Linked DNA regions of Homo sapiens: region 1 is linked to region 2. The links are contacts of gene promoters, found by promoter capture Hi-C in blood cells and fetal thymus (Javierre and others, 2016). All regions are on one chromosome and are shown on one strand. The core of a region is centred on a gene start or on the middle of the fragment in contact, and the rest is flanking DNA. Distances in the headings are between cores, read along the strand shown.

Region 1 (7,058 bases), core at 833-3,332, 130 kb before region 2:
AGACAAGATTCTTGCTCATGAGGCTAAGATCTCAGAGACATATAACATACCTTCCAATAGATAAAACACAGCAATAGAAAATTAATTAAGAATCAAAATGAGATGACTATAAATATGACTAATCAGAAAAGGGAAAATTTAGGATGGCCAGAGAAAAGGGAAGGAGTAAATAGAATGTGAGGCATGAGAGACAGAGTAGATTGAACCAGAAAGAGGGGGTAGGGCATTCTCGGGCAAGGACAGCAGCATCTGTGCATCACATGTGCTCAGAATAGGAAAGACACCCTGTAGGTTGACATTTGATCTGGTAAGATGGAACCTTAAATCAACAATTCTTCCTGATTGGGAGAGAAAGCAATCATTAGATTAAGTGGGCTGAGCTTCTCCTCCTTTTGACTCTGAAAGATACAGTGTAGAGGCCAAAAACGGGAAACTTTGCTTCCAAACAGCTCTTCTGACAGTTAGGGCATGGTTTCCTTATTAGAGAAATAAATTTCATCCACTGACCCAGAAGTGAGTCAGCAAGCATCTAACAGAATTGGAAGCTTCAAGGGAGTGTCAAAGAGATTTAAGTTCAATTCACCAAATATTTATTGTGCCCTACTAGGTACAAAGCACTCTTCTAGGAGCTGTGGGAAAATATGAGATGAACTGGACATAGTTTTTATCCTGAAAAAACTCAGAAGCTAATTGGAGATGCAATACAGTACATGAGTAATACAAGGCAGAATATAGCTGGTGTCATGAGAGAGAAACAAAACACTTCCAAAGAGACCAGGTATAAGGGAACACCAAGTAATTATAAGGTCATTGACAAATGCTATGAACAGGGATGGGGGCTGTCAGAATTCAATAAACACGTAATAATGCTTATTTTATGTAAAATAGTATTTTATGTTATAGAGGCTCCAGGAGGACTTAGAAATGAAAATGTAGTGTGGGAAACAAATTGGAAAAGGTAGCTGGGGCCACACTGGAGAGGTCCTACTTTTTTCTTCTCCTCTGAGGCTCCTGCCATCATGCTCGCTATACCACCTTCTATTACCCCCATCCACATACTATTATTCTCTACCATCCTGGCTAATTCCAAAGTTGATATAACCACATTTAGTTGGGCTCACTATGTGCCAGGCACTCTTCAAAACCTTTTGTATAGATCAACTCATTTAATGCTCACAACAAACCTATGAGAAAGACATTGTCAATATAATCTCTATTTTCTGTTCTGAAACACAGAAAGACATTAAGTAAATTGTTCAAGATCACATTTCTACTGCAGTGATGAAGCTGAGATTCAAATTCAAATAATGTATCTCCAAAGTCCATGCTCTTTTTTTTTTTCTTTTTTTTGAGACAGAGTCTTGCTCTGTCGCCCAGGCTGGAGTACAGTGGCATGATCTCAGCTCAGTGCAATGTCCGCCTCCAGGGTTCAAGCGATTCTCCTACCTCAGCCTCCCGAATAGCTAGGATTACAGGCGCCCACCACCACACCTGGCTAATTTTTGTATTCTTAGTAGAGACAGGGATTCACCATGTTGGCCAGGCTGGTCTCAAACTCCTGACCTCAGGTGATCCGCCTGCCTTGGCCTCCCAAAGTGCTGGGATTACAGGCGTGAGCCACCATGCCTGGCCAACCAGGCTCTTAAGCATTCATTACACTATGTTATTCAATGACATAGTCATTCCACGCAAAATCTGAGCCTCCTAGTCCTTTGAAATCATTCCAAAGACCTTTGCCTCCACTACACTTATCTATGTCTTCCTGGCTTTACCTTCAAATTACTATCCCTCTAAAATCTGGAGAGCCAATAGAGAACTCTGCCCCACAAGCCCACAGCTTTCTCTTATGCCCACTAAACTTGGACTTGAATCATATTTCATCTCATAGTCTCAATACCACCATATTTCTATTGATCCCCATACTCCTCCTATTTTCAATTTAATTACTGGGAATGAGAGGTTGAGGGTAGAAGAAGACAGAGGAGAGGCAGTATATCCACAGAAGAGACAGAACTCATCAATTACTCAAATCTACTTTTCCTCTTGTGATCTCAAAAAATGACATCGATATCTAATCTGGTTGTCCAACCAGAAACATTGATTTCTCTCTCCCTCATCCTCCATTTCCAATAATCAGCAAGTCTTACCAGTTATCCTTACTAAGACAGTCCTTCATGAGCCAAGTTCTGCAGGCCTTTCTAGTTTATTCTCTTTTTTTTTTTTTTTTTTTTTTTTGAGATGGAGTCATGCTCTGTCACCCAGGCTGGAGTGCAGTGGCGCGATCTCGGCTCACTGCAACCTCCATCTCCCTGGTTCAAGCGATTCTCCTGCCTCAGCCTCCCAAGTAGATGGGATTACAGGCATGTGCCACCACACCTGGCTAATTTTTGTATTTTTAGTAGAGACAGGATTTCACCATGTTGGCCAGGCTGGTCTCGAACTCCTGACCTCAGGTGATCTGCCCGCTTCGGCCTCCCAAAGTACTGGGATTACAGGCATGAGCCACCGCACCCAGCCTCTAGTTTCTTCTCTTATCACTTTCCACCCTCAAATTCCATGCTCAAAACACAGTGAACAATTTATAGATTCCCAAAGGCTCCCTACTTTTTTGCTTTCAAATCTTGGTACATGCTGCTCCCTCTCCCTGGAATATCCTTCTCCCCTTCTTTACCAAGCTAATAATGCTATGTATCCTTCAAAAATAAGCTCAGCTGCTCCTTCCTCTGAGAGAATGTCTCCCTCCAACTTTATATGTCCTCACTTACATGTTCTATTAGAGCATCTACTTTAGTTTGTTTAGCATTTAATTGATTGTACTTGGCTGTTAACTTATTTCTCCCACTACACTCCTTTGAATACAGGGACTGGGTCTTTTAACTCCACACCCCTAATCTAGCACAATTTTCCCAATTTCCTTTATCATAAAAAATACTGGAGGAAAAGCATGAAAATTATAAAATCCCAAGCTCTACACCAGACCAACTGACTCAGAACCCCCAGAAGAGATTTTTAGCAAGTGTGTACATACACATACACATGCACATATATGTCCCTGCCAAGAATCCCCGGTGATTCTTATGACCAAGAAAATTTGAGAAAAAAAAAAACTGATCTAACAAGCTGCCTGGCAACAGCAGAATGCTCAGTAAAAGGTAGCTGAATGTGTAAATGAATAAGTGAAATAGGAAGCCAGTACAGCCTATTCAGGTGTAGTAGAGTGGAAAAAGCATGGCTTTTGAAGTCAACTCTGGGTTCAAATCCCAATTTCACTACTCTTTCTGATTCACGTTGTCCAAAAGGTTATGCCTGCTGTCCTTAGTTAAACTGTACACCTATCTGACTACAAACACACGTATAACAGCACATAGCTACCATGTTTGTGAGCCTCTACGTATACACAAAAGTAAAGCAAAAACAAGGGAGAAAAGACAGAAGAGATGACTTCACTATCACTGCCCACTAGGTGAAACTGATTCTGAATTTAGAATTTCCACCCTCCCTCTCCATACCACTGTTCCAAAGAAGAGTGATCTACAAATTAGAACTGATCTTCCATTAAGTATTTCCTTAGTGGCCATGACTGATTTGAACTTGATTTGACTATTTTCTACTCTGAAAAGAAGCTTGCAGGTATTATAAGAACATACCTCTTGGGTTTGTTTTCTGGCTACTTGAGAAAAAAGATCTTCACAAAATCTTGGAATTATTCCTGGTTCTTCACTAAATCCCATCATCCTGAAAAATACATTATGAATAAGGGGGAAATAAAACTAATTCTTTCTTTAAAATTCTTTTTGGGGAAATAGGCTGGGAAGGGAGTAGGAAGCAAGTTCACTGAATCTCATAATTAAGAATCTGGACTCTGGAGTCAAATCTGCCTGAGTCCAAATCTTGACTCCAAGATATTTAACCTCACTAAACTTCAATTTCCTCTACTGTAAAACAGGAATAATACAACTATCTAATTCAGAGAATTGTTGTGAAAGAATATAAGCAAAGTCTTTAGCACAGTGTCTGGAATATAGTAAGAACTCAAATGTTGGGCAACCCGCTTGGGACCCCTCCACGCTGTGGACTGTGGAAGCTCTGTTCTTTCGCTCTTCACAACAAACCTTGCTACAAAAAAAAAAAAAAAAAAAAAAAAAAAAGAACTCAAATGTTAGCTACTGTTAAAATGCTGAGTATTTCTTTCTAGGACAGGTATTATTATCATAGCTACCATTTATCAGATGCCCCTCCACCCTTTTTTCTTAAGAGATGGGGACTAAGTTGCCCAGGCTGGACTCGAACTCCTGCACTTAAGCAATCCTCCTACCTCAGCTTCCCAAGTAGCTGAGACTACAGGTGTGTGCCATCACATCTAGCTTAGATGCCTTACTTTTAATTCTCACCAAAATACTTAAAAGATAACCTCTCTAGGCCTTAGTTTATGTAAAATATATAAAGTACAGTAAAATGGGGCCAATGATAATTACAAGATGAATTGTATCAAGGTAAATGTATAAACTGAAGCCCAGAGGCTAAGTAAATTGCCCAAGTTTGCAGAACTGGTATATAAAATGGATGAGATTTGGGCCAAGATCTGTGTGATTTCAAAACTATATTCTTTCTATCACCCCTATGCCACTTCTCACAAAAGTATATTTAAACACTTCTGGATAATTGCATTTCCAATACAACTTACGTATATGATTTTCCAGAGCCAGTCTGACCATAAGCAAAAAGACAGGTATTGAAGCCTTCGAAGGCTCTTTCTAGGAGTGGTGCTGCTAGCTTCTCATAGACAGTTGTCTGGCTAGCGTAGTGAGGATGACATTCATCAAAAGACCAGAATGAAACATCATAAATAAAATTATAAACTTGTTTCGTGTCAGGGTGTTCCACAGTTATTTCTTTCCCACTCATGAAGACTACCTGGGATGCTTTTTCAATCTTCTCTCTTGAAAGAAGCACAAAGAAAAAAATCAAGTAACTAAAATGATCAAGGGTATTATTCTCACAGAACATAATAAATACCTCAAAACTATTTAAACAATCTTCCAAGGCAAGATAATTCTGTAGTTTTATGTGGAAAATGCAGATAAGCAAACATAATTCTAGTGGGTTTCCAAAATATATTTCCTGAGGCTCCAGTGCCACCAAAGGGAAAATCCCAGATTCCTCCAGAAAACCTATCCTACTTTTACAAGATTTTTTCCTCTTTTTTTTTTCTCTTGAACTATACCTTTTCCCATCCCACCTACTATAATCTACCTATACTCTTCATCCAAATCTACATCTTTATTATACAAATTTGGGGGGGTACCAATCTAAATAAAGCTGGCATAAAATACAAATATCTAATTTTAACAAACTCAGTTGACTGTAAGTTTCAATCATAAGTCTCTCTTGGCTACTAAAGATCTCTCCTCCTTCCTCTAGATTCTCTCCCTTAAAATCATGAATCTTTCTGTATATCCTTTTTCCCTTTGAGACTTAGGTGGAAATCTTTCATTTACTTTAGATCTACAGAAAAACATCATCACTCTTTGTCTGGCTCCAGATATACACTCCCTCCCCGCTCCATCCCTGACTCTGAGACTGCTTTAAATCAGAATTTATTCTGGAAAAAACACCTGCCTCATCAATTTGACAAGTACTCTACCCTGGCCCTGCTTTCAAGGCTTGTCTGATGAGTTTGGAATCAGGCACTTGGTCCCTTACTAAGTTCAGTATAGTCATCCATCTTGCATTTTGTCCCTACCAGCTCTTTCTATTGTTTCTCTTCCTATCATGGTTCTTGAGGCTCTATTAGACATTCCAATTCTCTCAAACCAACTCACCCTCAGTTCTCCCTCTTAATACTAACCCATTTGCACGAAAAAGATTCTACAGTACTGTATAACTTGCCTTTAACTACTGACCCCTTAGGTTCAAACTGGAGGTTCCTGCCCTGATGCAGTGGTCACCAAATCCTCTTCTAACTTGCTTAGATACACAGCTTCAAGTTAAACACTACTAACTCTGTGAAGTTTTTCACTGTCCCTTAAAATATTTTAAACAACTACATTAAAATATTTTAAAACAATTACATTTTGTCACATTCACATTTTGTCATGTCCATCTTTTCCAACCTTATCTTTAATCTGTGTCTTCCCCACCCACAACCACTTTTAGAGAGAGATTTTTTGCCATCAAAATCAAATCTAATGTATCACTGCATTTATAACTACTATATAGTAATCGGAGACAATGATGATGATAATCACCACTCTGGAAAGGGTTTTGAAAGGACCTCTTTAGGGAACCAGTAATTTGTTATGGCTCTTCTTTTTTTTGAGACAGTCTCGTTCTGTCGCCCAGGCTGGAGTGCAGTGGCCTGATGTCAGCTCAATGCAGCCTCTGCCTCCCGGGTTCAAGTGATTCTCCTGCCTCAGCCTCCCGAGTAGCTGGGATTACAGGTGTGCAACACCATGCCCAGCTAATTTTTGTATTTTTAGTAGAGACAGGGTATCACCATATTGGCCAGGCTGGTCTCAAACCCCTGGCCTCAAGTGATCTGCCTGCCTTGACCTCCCAAAGCAATGGGATTACAGGCGTGACCCACCACACCTGGCCTGTTATGGCTCTTTTTAAGGGATAGGTATAACATTCCAGCATATATTGCAGATCTGAAAGCAGATTTCATTAGAGACCTAAGTGACTTATTCAGACTTTTTAAAAGCAATATATCTAGAGAAACTTCAATATACAAAATATGGTGATTCAATTTTTTAATTTTATAGTCAGTGATCAAAAATTATCAACACACACTACAACTAGACCTAAAAGTTCTTTCTATATAAAAGTATTGCCAACAAGTTTGAAGATGCACGAATACACTGACCTTCCAAAGGCAGAGAGGAATTAAAGGTACCTTACATGTAACTGCTTGGCTTTAGATTTTAAAAGGCATCACATACCTCTTGGTGAAAGGTCTTACGCGTACTGCCACTGTCACTTGACTATTCTCTACTTTTAAGGGGTCTTTTCCTGCAGAGGTGTTCTGAACTACAGTTTCTTCTTCGGGAAGAATTGTA
Region 2 (6,832 bases), core at 162-2,661:
GAGGTTGGCGGATCACCTGAGGTCAGGAGTTCGAGAGCAGCCTGGTCAACATGGTGAAACCCCATCTCTACTAAATACACAAAAAATCAGCTGGGCGTGGTGGTGCGCGCCTGTAGTCCCAGCTACTCAGGAGGCTGAGGCAGGAGAATCGCTTGAGCCCTAAAGGTGGAGATTGCACTGAGCTGAGATCTTGCCACCACTCTCCAGCCTGGGCGACTTAACAAGACTCCGTCTCAATAATAATAATAATAACAACAACAATCACTTAAAAATAAAATTAGATAATGTATTAAAATGAGACGTGAGGAGCTAGTGATTTAAGTAAGCTCAGTATGTGTTAACTTTGATAATATTCACATGTAGTCCATTAATTGAGCAATTATACTATGGGGCTGGGCACCGTATAGCTGCTGGAGATATACCCTGTCATCATGTCATCAATGGGAAAAACCGACAAGTAACTGATTATTGCCACACGATGTGACAGATGCTACGACAGAAATAAGAACAGGGTGCTCCGGGAACAACAGGGGAGGCACCTGTGTGACAGCCCTGACTGGAAAGTTGTCAGCAGCTGTCAGGGAAGGCTTCATGGAGGAAGTGACTACTGTGGAGTTTGAAGGTGCAGTAGGAGTAAGCTGGGTGGACAGAGGAACCACCCTGAGCAAGGAGGTAGAGATCTGAGAAGGCATGCTCATTGAAGAAAATAGAGAGCAGTTCTGACAAAATGAAGCTATAAAGGCCTGTAGATGCCAGATCACAAAGGGCATTAGCTTGTTTTGTGAAAGAATTTATGCTCTTTTCTGAGAGAATGGGGAGGCATTGTTGGACGTGTGCCCTCTCAGAGATAAAATTTAAGTGGAGAGCACTGAGTTAAGAAAATATCTCGATATCATGAAATTAACACAGGTTTGGAGCCCCCACAGATCCTCAATCCTGGTTAAGTTCCATGTATGACCTAATCAACTCCACCTCTCTTTCGTGGACAATCAGCAATGACATCTACCTCTCAGGATTATTGCGAGGGCTAAATGAGATAGTGCAGGTCAAGTTCGCTGCAAAGTGTGTGTCACATAATGAACATTTTAAGTAAATATCAACTCTTTTCGATGAAGCACTGTGTAAGTAGAATACGAAAGCTATTGCCAGGCCTCTCCCTCCTCCCTCCCTTCCTTTTCCTCTCTCAGCAGTGCAGGCAGCAGCAGCCAAAAGCCAGGGACGTGGAGGATGTCCACTGAAGCGAGTACTCCAGAGCGATGATTAAAAGGCAGCCGCCCCGAATCCCGGGCGCGGGCGGGGAGCGAGGCTGGGCATGCTCAGTGGGCCGGAGACGGGAGGGAAGCGGGGAGGGGGCGGGGGCGGGGGCGGGGGTTGGGGGGGGTGGGTCGGAGCCGCGCGAAGGCGCATGCTCAGTCTCCGCATCTGCTCCTTCATCCAGTGCCGCAGCCGGAAAACCGCAGCGGCGGCGGCGGCGGCTGAGGGGGAACGATCCAGCGAGCTGCAGAAAGGGGGGCAGGAAAAAATTACAAGGACATTACTGATAAGACAGGAACTGAGAGCTTGGGATTCGCGGCCTCTCCCCGGCCACCACCTTCGCCGTCAGCAAGGGAGGAAGACCCGGGAGACGGCAGCGGCGACGGCGGCAGGGGAAGGAGGAGACGGCGACGGGAGGGAGCACAGAGGAGGGGACGGGCCGGCGGCGGCCTGTGAGCCGCAGTGATTTTGACGTTTTCCGCTGCTGCGTCTCCGGCGGGCAGGGGCCGGGCTGCGCTGGGTGGGCCAGCTCGCCCCGCGCTTCCCCCTCGTCCTGCTCGTCCCTCCGCCCACCCGGGGCCTGAGGGGTCTCCCCGCTCCGAGGGAAGGGGAGAGGGAGGCGAGGGCGTGCGGGCATCGCGATGGCGGGGACATTTTCCACAACGTGATTGTTGAAGGCTCCCCCCATCCCCCCTCCCTTAAAATTCCGGGCCCTTCCAGCCTCCACCCTCCCCCAAGCCCGTGTGACTAAACCGAGACAAAGGGGAGGCGGCCTCGCTCACACGCGGGCTCGCGGGGCGGGTGGCTCGGAGGGGCGCGGGCACGGGGCGGACCTCGCGCGGACGGACGGACGGAGACGGCGCCGCCACATTCCTATGCCCGGGAGCGGCGGCGGCGGCGGCGGCGGCTCCCGCGGGAGGCGGCAGGCGCGCGGCGCGGACAGCTGAGCTTCTCCTCCGTCGGCGCCCGGGCGGACATCGCCCGGGCCCCGATGGTTTGAGCTTGCTTCTCCCTCCCTCCCGACCCCCGTGGTGGCGAGGCCACGCCATGTGAAGGTTAGGGCCGGGACATCCCGAGGAGCCGCGGTGAAAGATGGGGGATGCTGCAGACCCCAGGGAGATGAGAAAGACGTTCATTGTTCCAGCCATCAAGCCTTTTGACCACTATGATTTCTCCAGGGCCAAAATCGCCTGCAATCTGGCCTGGCTGGTGGCCAAAGCCTTTGGGACAGGTTAGTGGTGTCACCCTTTCCCTCCCCTCTTCCTCCTGATGTGGTCCACATCTCGGTTTTTGTTCCCGATTCTCGAATCCCTCCCTCCCCGTGCCTGTCTTCTCGTACAGGTTAAGGGAGATGATGGGAGGCTAGGAAGAGAAAGAAAGGAGAAATAAGGAAAGCAGGTTTGGTCTTCAATGAAGGGCACGTGAATGGTCAGGTGGGATTTGGCCAGATTCCTTTTATTGGATGGCAAAATGTCCCCCCCATCCCCCAGTGAGCAATTTTATGTTTTTACATAGAGTGGTTTTGATTTGTGGTATTTTCTTCATTGTGTTGCGTACATTTCTGCCTCAGTCATAATTGTGATTACACCACCAAGAAATCTGAGTTGGTTTCTTTATTATTGCAAGAAGGTGGATGGTGCATAGTACTATATTGATTTTGACATTTGTAATGATGGCTGCTATTCAGGCTCCGTTGGATGTAAGGTGGCCTGTGTCGAGTGCAGTATTAATTTTTGTTGTCATTCTTTAAGGCTGTATCAGCCTTCTGCACGCATGTTAAGTTCTTATTAAATCAGTTATTTAAAACCAGCGTTCAGTTTGCTGACTGTAGGGTGCAGTTTTCATTTCATATTATCAGTGAGGCATATTCTTTTTTCCAAATGTATTTTGGCTTCATAAATTAAAAGAAACAAAAACTCCCTACTTTGGGAAGTTTTTTAATAGATGAGTTTTTCGAAGGCGTGTGCTGTTGACACAGAAATTGTATAGTACAGTAGCAGTTAAACACTCCCTCCATAACCCAGTCTTTGCAAAATAACAGGAAAAGGGCCTCCCGTTATGATTCTTTAGTGTTGCTTTAGGAGCCCATGTTGTGAAATGTTAAAAAAATTAGAGAGCTGCTTTTCATTGGAAGATGCTTCTGTAATTTGGTAACTTTTAAGAGTAATTTTACAAGATTTCTGTTCCCTAGTTAATGAAGTTTAGATATATGAAATATTTGTTGAAAAGTTCCCTAGTACTCACAAATTTCCACATGTTAAATATAGGGTTTTTCAGGGGGAGGGTGACTAATTTCCAATTTTAGGACTATGTAATGTTTTGGTAAATGGTTTAGTTCAGTTTTACTGCTTAAACTTACACAGCTGAGTATTTTCAGGACTTACACATCCTACTTAAATAGCAGATTAATCTCAGTGTTTGGAAAATGATTTGAATTTGTTTTTGGGGAAACTTGACATTGATGTGATTTTATGTTTATGGCAGCCTTAATTTTACTTGAATTTTTATGCTTTGATATTAAGCTGGCATCAGGAATAAATATAGTAAATCCTTTTCAAATTATTTAAATTTTAAACATCTCTTTGAAATTGAATGTCTAGCGTAACTCATAGGAAGAAACACAAAGTGTTACTGCCTTTATATAAAAACATTCTGGCACCACTGATATAAGCAGTGAGAATAATAGATGTATTTTGGTTTTAACTTAAGCAGCACACTGAAGCCGGTATCTATTTGGATGGCAAATCAAGGCTATTTAAGTGCTTAGAAAACATGGAAAGAGGGAAATTTACATAGTCACCTATGTGGAAAAGTAGTATGTATAAAGTGGAAGGCAAAGGGAATAAGAGAAATATTTTCTTTCCATCTGGAACTGAGAGGATACTTATAGGATACAGATATCAAAATTTTGCCATGCATACACAAAAGCTTCCAGCTAGAAAATGGCCTACTTTCTGGGTATGTGTCAGGCAGGTTCGTAGATTCTAGACCACTTGAACATATTGAACACACCTGAAGAAGAAAGGAAATGAAGGGAATCTAGTATCAGTGGAATCTGATGTCTGCCAGGCACTCTGCTGGATGCTTTGCAGTAAGTTGTACGTTAGAGATTGATAACAAGTCTCTGATGTAGGTAGTGTGTTCCCCATTTAAAAAATAGGAGGAAATCAGTGCATAGAGAGGTTAACTTTCCTACTATCACAGTGTTAGTAAGTGGCAGAAGTGAGTTTTGATTTGAGGTCTGACTCAAAAGGGTAAAGGTATTGGTGGAGGTGGAACACTGCTGTTAGATACCCAGCACTCTGAATACATTACTTCATTTATTCCTGCAGCAACCCTGTAGATACTGTTCTCATTTTGCAGATAAGGTAACTGGCTCACAGATTAATTTGCACAAGATTAAACATCTGGCAAGTGATGTGTTCTGCATGTCTGACTCTGAAGCCTTTGCTTATTACTCTATACCGTTCTGCAGAGTAACCGTTTTATCTGCAGGTGTGAAAAATGTGCACATAGTACATATTGAAGTCTAATTTTTTCTTTAAAAATTGTACAAATCTTAATTCATTTTCAGATAGATGATATTGTTGGCTATTACATTTGCCTTGGCAGCAGTTGGAATGGATGAAAAGACCATATTCAAATGGGATGAAAAACAAGTTTAGAAGACCTTGAGTGACTTAGTAACAATATATTAATACATTATTAAGAATGTTATGTTTGTACATTTTGTTTATTCTTTATCAACAGTCTTTCAAAACAAATTTATATGGAGTGAATAGAAAAAAATTAGGAATTTTTTTGATGTAAATATTCTTTATTTGCTGCAGATACACTTATGCAGGAAAGGTTAATAGATAGCATATTTCAAAGGTATTACCTAATTATATTTAGTTGTTCAAAAAATCAGCCCAGCTTTCAATATGATTTACTAAAATCACTCCTTTAACAATGACTTACAGGGTCTTCAGGCACTGATTTGGTGTTTTCTATTAGAAACTTTCTAACTTTTGATGTACTGAAAAAGTAGTCAATTTTATAACCATATGTTGTAAAAGTCATTTAAAATGATAGCTAGAAATGTGAGCATAGAATGAAGTAATTGAACTTAAAAAAAAAACACTGATGTTGTAATACCTAGAAAGCAAATATGGAATATTTACTTAATTTGAAGTCTTAGGAGCCTTGAATCATTTTCTTCTCTTTACAGTAGTATTACAAAAGTATTACAAATAGCCCAAATTTTAATAGTTTATTTTGTGGAAGATGCAGATACAGGTTTGATTAAATGAAGAATACATTTTTATAGATGAATTTGAAACACTAAATCGATAATCCAAATTCCAAAGGAGGAAGTAGTTCAACTATCTGTGCCTTTTCTATATTTGAAGAGCTTAACCCATTTAAGCAAAGATTTTACAGAATTTTCTTTAAATGTTCTGTTCTCTTAAATCCTTTGGGGGAAATGGTAGATGCAAAACCTCTTGTGACACTCTTACTAAACTCTTGAATTTGGAATTCAAGGCCCACTTCCTAGTGTCAGTTTATCACTTCAATCTTCTCAACTATTATTCTCCTTTTTATCCCATTTAGTTTAGTGATATAAAATATTTCCTATCATAAATATACCTTGTTACATTTCTTTGTCTGTCTTAACAAATCTTGCTGTCAAAGTCCTGTATAAGGTCTGACTCTTGTGCATATATGAAGATAGTTGAGAGCAGTGGGTAGCATTGTGGTTAAGAGAGACCCGTAGCAGAGGGGCCAGTTTGGGACATTATTGCAAGAGTCTGGGCAAAAGATAAGGTCCTGTGTCTTTGACTTTGTAGTCAACAGAAAATTTACCAATAAGAAAAAAAAAAAAGAAGTTCATGAGGTCTTGAAGTGGTAGGGGGCGGGTATGATAATAAAGCTGCTAATATAGGCTGGGCATGGTGGCTCATGCCTGTAATCCCAGCACTTTGGGAGACCAAGGCGGGTGGATCACCTGAGGTCAGAAGTTCAAGACCAGCGTGACCAACATGGTGAAACCCCGTCTCTACTAAAAATAGAAAAATTAGCTGGGCATGGTGGCGAGTGCCTGTAATCCCAACTACTCAGGAGGCTGAGGCAGGATAATCGCTTGAACCCAGGAAGTGGAGGTTGCAGTGAGCCGAGATGGTGCCATTGCATTCCAGCCTGGGCAACAGAGCAAGACTCTGTCTCAATAAATAAATAAATAAATAAATAAATAAATAAATAAATAAAGCTGCTAATACTTATTGAGCTCCTACACTGTGTGTCAAGCACTTTACACATACTGTATCATTTAAATCCTCATGACAGCCTTTTGAGGTGGAAAGGTTACTTATTCCAATTTTACTGATGAGGAAAGTGTCCGGGGACTTAGGAACTCTTCCAGAGTTACCCAACTAATGGAGCTGGGATCTGAACCCAGGGAATTTGACTTCAGCCTGTACTTGTAACTACTGTTCTCTATGGGTAGAAGTCAAAAAATGGAAAGGAGGCAAATGATAGAAAAAATGTTGCAGAGATTTAATCTCTAGTATTTCTAAGTGGGTACATGGGAAATGGTTTG

The links. The method cuts DNA at HindIII sites, captures the fragments that hold promoters and counts their contacts. A CHiCAGO score of 5 or more calls a contact.
Region 1: a fragment that was not itself captured here is called in contact with the fragment with the promoter of CAMSAP2 in region 2 in 5 of 17 cell types (non-activated CD4 T cells, activated CD4 T cells, M2 macrophages and 2 more); the score reaches 7.0 in non-activated CD4 T cells.

Annotation. Positions count from the first base shown.
Region 1 is chr1:200,610,671-200,617,728 of GRCh38, forward strand. KIF14 (kinesin family member 14) reads right to left here. Exons shown (of 30, transcript NM_014875.3): 2 at 6,942-7,058; 3 at 4,685-4,939; 4 at 3,648-3,735. Among named protein-coding and RNA genes, the nearest start is that of KIF14, 6.6 kb to the right of the region's middle. The HindIII fragment of the contact is 3,078 bases long and covers 544-3,621 here.
Region 2 is chr1:200,737,482-200,744,313 of GRCh38, forward strand. It overlaps CAMSAP2 (calmodulin regulated spectrin associated protein family member 2), which reads left to right and starts at 1,412. Exons shown (of 17, transcript NM_203459.4): 1 at 1,412-2,485. The coding sequence starts at 2,347. RefSeq lists an enhancer at 1,042-1,121 and silencers at 1,762-2,121, 2,152-2,221, 5,866-6,066. The HindIII fragment of the contact is 5,817 bases long and covers 1-4,180 here.